2 separate regions of the Homo sapiens genome follow, and region 2 is linked to region 1. Evidence: promoter capture Hi-C in 16 types of primary human blood cells and fetal thymus (Javierre and others, 2016). All regions are on one chromosome and are shown on one strand. The core of a region is centred on a gene start or on the middle of the fragment in contact, and the rest is flanking DNA. Distances in the headings are between cores, read along the strand shown. Region 1 holds the start of ADAM7 (ADAM metallopeptidase domain 7). Region 2 has its middle 48 kb from the start of ADAM28.

Region 1 (2,862 bases), core at 208-2,707:
TGGCTTTGGAACAAGCATAATCGGAGGAAAAGAGGGTGTTTAATAAATACCTCAAGGAACTCAAAAATTTAAATGCTACATAGAAAAGGATATACCTACAAGTTGCCACTGAACCAGGAAGAAGTTAAGAAGGCTATTGTGGCAAGGGAGCTAAATAGTATATTTCAAGGGGAAGGATGTGGTCAACAGTGCTAAAAATTGTTAAAAGGGCAAATGAGATGAGGAAACAAAATATCTCTTGGATATAGAAATGGTAAAATCACTGGAGATATTGGCCATTTCAGTAGAATAATAAAGGCAGATGCTAGAACTGGGATGTGGTAGGATAAGTTTGAGGTAAGAAAATTGCAAGAAGTCCAGGTAATACTGTGTTAGAAATTTAGCTGTAAAGGAAATGGGAGAAAAAGTGATAGTAAGAGTATATGAGATATAGAATAGAGAGAATTTTTCAAAAAGGAGAGACTTTTGACTTGACTTAAAATGGTACCCCCGTTTTAAGCCAAGGGACTCCGATTTCTCTGCCTCCTTTCCAAGTTTGCTTATGTTTTCCCAATTTGTAAATATCAGTGTCAATTTCCCCACCTGCAAAGTGGGGATTATATTTTATAATGCTGCTATACATGGCTGCTAACTGGGAGCAAGTGAACTGTATGAGGACAATTCTGTTTTTCAACCACAATGGATGAATATTAATGTCAGATGGATTTTTCCTCTTATGTTTCCTTGTAGAAAAAGTCGTCCTTGGAGCAGAGGGTCTAAATATCAAAAGGAAGCTTCCAATTGACATAGATTCGTTCAGTTTGTGGAAATATTAGAGACATATAGATGCGGGTGAGAAATAGAATCCCAAATGAAGATAAAAGGATTCTATTGGCCATGGGATAACTCTACTAACATAACAAGAGAACACAGACATACAGATGGAATTGTCGAGGCCCTTTGCACATCTGTCCATTGGTATTCTTTTTTGTATTGCTTTGAAAGGGCTCTATATTATATGGACACTTACTCCCACCTTTTATTTATTTATTACATACATTTCTGTAGTTTGGATATTTTAATTTTAATATGTGATTTATGCCATATAAATTTTCAATATTTCTCATTTAACAAATGTTCCTTTTAGTTTTTATATGGCATACTCTGCATAGAAAGAATTTAACCATCTTCAACCAAAGCATATATAAATATTTTTCAACATTTTTTTCCTAAGACATTCTTGATTTTTTTCCACTTTTGAAGTTTTCAGATATCTGGAATCAAATTTATATTAGACATGACGTAGGAATCTATGTCCAGCCAACCTTCACCACCACCACCTCGGTAGTTGTCTTTAATTAGAACATGATGTTCAACCTCCAGGTTTTAGCCTCAAGCACCTAGCAAGTTGTGTAACTCCCTCAAGGAACACTTCCTTGTTGTGGATCAAAACTGCCCACCTATCTGTGAGGTGCTTCATCCCTGCAGTGGAAGTGAGGAGGAAGAAAGGTGAACTCCTTTTCTCAAGCACTTCTGCTCTCCTCTACCAGAATCACTCAGAATGCTTCCCGGGTGTATATTCTTGATGATTTTACTCATTCCTCAGGTTAAAGGTATGTCTTGCTCTTTTTATCAGGACTTTCTTATTATGCTGTGAGGTTGTGTCTCTTTAGTCACAAACTTTAAACTGTAAGTGATAAAAACATTAAACGTTGATGATTTTTCTGAGAGCTTCGACTAGATTACAGCTAATCATGAGACTCCATGCATCTGTGTAATGCCATATCACTCTTGAACATTCTGACCCACAGTGAGGAGGAGAAAGGAGTGGACAAGTACTGCATATCTGCAGCATGGCAGGCACTGTGCTGGCCATTAGCTGCTTTGTATGTTAAAGTGTTTAAAATTTGAAATTAATATCTCCACTTTACAGATAAGGAAAATGAGACTATTTACAGATCAGAGAAATTAAATATGCTACTGCTGGCCACACAATAAATTGGTAAAGGCTTGATTCAAATCAGAGCATATTCCAGAAACCCCATGCCCTCTCCTTTTTATTGCTCTTTAAGTATCACACCTTAATTAAGCAGGGCTCATCTCACAGATGACTATCAAGGTGATAGGACATGAATAGAAGATTATGGTTGGCACTGATGCAGGGCTACCCAAAATTCTTTAACAGGTAAAGGTCTTATACTTAACTACGAAAGGTAAGACTTTAAATGCAAACATCCCTGGAAGACCAAATTCAGTAATTTACATTCAAACAGGACAACAGTGCAGGCTTTGACAGGAGACAAAATCCAGAGGTTGGCATGAGGATAACAAAACGACAACTGCAGGCCAGACATGGTGGCTCATGCCTGTAATCCCAGCACTTTGGGAGGCTGAGGCAGGTGGATCACCTGAGGTCAGGAGTTTGAGACTAGCCTGGCCAACATGGTGAAACCCCGTCTCTACTAAAAATACAAAAATTAGCCAGGCATGGTGGTGTGCACTTGTAATCCCAGCTACTTGGGAGGCTGAGGTGGAAGAATCGCTTGAACCGGGGAGGCGGAGGTTGCAGTGAGCCGAGATCACGCCACTACACTCCAGCCTGGCTGACAGAGCGAGACTCTGTCTCAAAAAAATAAATAAATGAAACAAAAAATAAAATTACAGCTGCAGAACATGGCGAAAATATGGAGGAAATGGAGGGACACTGATTTCTTTGGCTCCTTTCCAAGTTTCCTTATATTCTCCTGATTTGTAAATATCAGTGTCAATTTCCTTGCCAGTAAAGTGGGAATAACATTTCATAGTGTTGCTGTCCATGGCTGCTAACTGGGGGCAAATGAACTGTATTAGAACAATTCTGTTTTTCAGCCGCTGTAGACGAAT
Region 2 (2,862 bases), core at 165-2,664, 200 kb before region 1:
TGGCCATAATGAAGACATCCTGCAAATGGTAGTTATTCCTATACATACTGATATGGTTTGGCTGTATCCCCACCAAAATCTCATCTTGAAATCCCATGTGTTGTGGGAGTGACCTGGTGGGAGGTAATTGAATCTTGGGGGGCGGGACTTTCCTGTGCTGTTCTCCTGCTAGTGAATAAGTCTTATGAGATCTGATGGTTTTAAAAATGAGAGTTTCCCTACAAAAGCTCTCTCTTTGCCTGTCGCCATCCGTGTAAGATGTGACTTGCTCCTTCTTGCCTTCTGCCATGATTGTGAGGCTTCATCAGCCATGTGGAATTGTGAGTACTCCCTTAAACCACTTTCTTTTGTAAATTGCCAAGTCTCAGTTATGTCTTGATCAGCAGCATGAAAATGGACTAATACATGTATTGATATCAAAACCACCAAAGTAGGAGCAGAAGTATAAGGATCTTGTCCCACTCATACTATATTGTACTACTTTCAATTTTGTCAATCAGTAGATTGTAAACTTTTTTAAGGAATAGAGTTTATACATCTTCCAAAGAACCCAGATATATGATGAATATGAAATTGTTACTCAACTTTATGAATTTTTGCATTCCTATTGAGCACTTTAGATTGCTCACATAAACATTAAACTAAAAAAGCAATCTGAGAGTGCTTACATTTCTCTTATTTTGGTGTTTCACAAAAATATTTGATCACTAGGTGGCAGCAATACGTAGAGAAGGAGCCTGAAGATCTGACGTTCGCTTGCAAAAAGTTGGCTCTTCTGCACAATCACAGCCAGCCTGTCAGCCTCCCGGTTGCTGTGATGGACCTGAGTCACTTCCCATCACAAAGAGCATTTCCCAGCTGATGCTAAGGACCCAAGGCCATAGCATCTGTCTTTACCTCCTCAACAGAATGGGTAGCTTGTCATTTGGGGATTTCAAATATTTTTAGTAAAAAATGTTACTGAATAAACAGTGGTACTTTAAAAGTGCTGCCCATTGATCTTAGGAGTGTTTCTATTTCAACTCCAGTAAGCTTGTCCTCTTTCTGTAGCTACATCATAAGCTGTTTCTATAGCTGTTTCTGTAGTTACATCATGAGCCCCTGTGAGGATATTTATTTTGACCTTTCAACATTTTTTACTTACACATTCTCATCATTCTCCAAATTGAGTTATAATGGTCTATGGAAGATAATTGTTTTAACCAGTCATAACACAGAGTATAGAACTAATGGAGATTTAATTTTTTAAATTTTAGATGAATTCACAGAGTAGGTGCAAAGACAGCGCAAAGAATTCCCACATACTTTCCTGGTAAGGATATTTTACCTCTCTGTATTCCTGGTGGCTAGCTGTATGCCTCACACTATTGAATGAATGATTTAATACCAGTGGCCCTATAAAATATTGTACCTGTTAATGGACGATGAAGAATGATGTTTCAGTCAGGTTGGGCTGCTACAACCAAATATCATAAACTAGATGGCTTACCAACAAAAGAAACTTATTTTTCATGGTTCTGGAGGCTGGAAGTCCAAGATTATGGTGCCAGCATGGCTGGGTTTTGGTGACAGCTCTCTTCCAGGTTGTAAACAGCTGACATCTCTTTGTGTCTGCATATAGCAGAAAAGAAGTGAACTAGCTTTCTGGCCTCTTCTTATAAGGGCACTAATCCCATTCATGGAAGCTCTACCCTCATGATCTATTACCTCTCAAAAGCCCCACCTCTAAATTCCATCATATTGGGAATTAGATTTCAAGGAATTAATTGGTTTTAAGGACATGCCATGGTCCAGATGAAGCTTAGAAACCAGTCACTATCCAAAGAAACATAAATTTGAAAGTCATTTTCATGTGCTTCTCTTATTATCATTTCAAGACCTCTTTCACATCTGCCTATTTGCATTTTATCCCAGTTTTCAACCATTTTTACACATTTACTATTTACTGCAATCTTTACTGTGATCTTAGGTGAAACAGACATTATTCTGTTGATTTTACAGACAATTGAGGTGACAGAGAGGTTAAGTAACTACATGAGAATTAAAAAGTGTAGAAATTTAAATAGTTTGACTTCAATTTACTGTTATTTCTTCTTTGCCTCATTCTTCTTACCTCAATACAAATGTAATGAGTGCTCTATTGAAAACAAATTTTAATCAGAGGTAAGAATGAGTTAAGCCCTAAGGCTTTGCACAGCATTTAATCTGAAAGCAAGAACCTTAAATACAATCCTCCTACTTTTTGAGTAGAATGGCTCCAGCTGTCTTGGCAGGGATAACCCCTTGTCAATAACATTTCAGAGTTTAGAGATTTAAAGAATTTATTTTCACCTGACATGCATGGCATACCTGAAACCACCTTTGCAAAAATTATAACAGTGAGAAAATTATGGCAGTGAAAGGGATTTGGCCCCCTGACTCCATTTTGCTTCTAACCTCCAAGCTGCACTTGTTCATTCCTAGGCACAGGCTAAACTAACTTTGGGAGGAACTTAGTTTACAGCTTAACTTTGAAACAAAGATAATAACAGCCCTTTCCGGAAACAAGCCCCCTTCTAGCCTGGGGACCAGACTGCCTTGTAAAACTAACATATTAGCCACAAGATTAGAAATTATGATTTAGGAGTTATGAAGCTAGAGGCCACAGTATTCCAAACGTTCCCAGTTGCTCCTAGGGATAGCATCACAATGGTAAATCCTAAGATTGATGCTTGAGATGTTTTTTAGACCCTTAGTTCTGATGCAACAGCTGGCGCCAACCAGATCAGTAATCTGGCTCAACCAGTTGTGCAATCCCACGCAGGAATAGAAGGCAGCAAGAAAAACCCATTTGACCCCGTATGATTTCATCTCTGACCCAAC

What was found. Contacts are between HindIII fragments. The CHiCAGO score rates a contact against its expected background, and 5 or more counts as called.
Region 2: a fragment that was not itself captured here is called in contact with the fragment with the promoter of ADAM7 in region 1 in 2 of 17 cell types (megakaryocytes and monocytes); the score reaches 5.7 in megakaryocytes.

What each region holds. Positions count from the first base shown.
Region 1 is chr8:24,439,569-24,442,430 of GRCh38, forward strand. ADAM7 (ADAM metallopeptidase domain 7) reads left to right here and starts at 1,458. Exons shown (of 22, transcript NM_003817.4): 1 at 1,458-1,592. The coding sequence starts at 1,541. All of the region lies in intron 1 of ADAM7-AS1 (ADAM7, ADAMDEC1 and ADAM28 antisense RNA 1), which reads right to left. The HindIII fragment of the contact is 2,181 bases long and covers 772-2,862 here.
Region 2 is chr8:24,244,437-24,247,298 of GRCh38, forward strand. No RefSeq gene overlaps it. Among named protein-coding and RNA genes, the nearest start is that of ADAM28, 48 kb to the right of the region's middle. The HindIII fragment of the contact is 768 bases long and covers 1,031-1,798 here.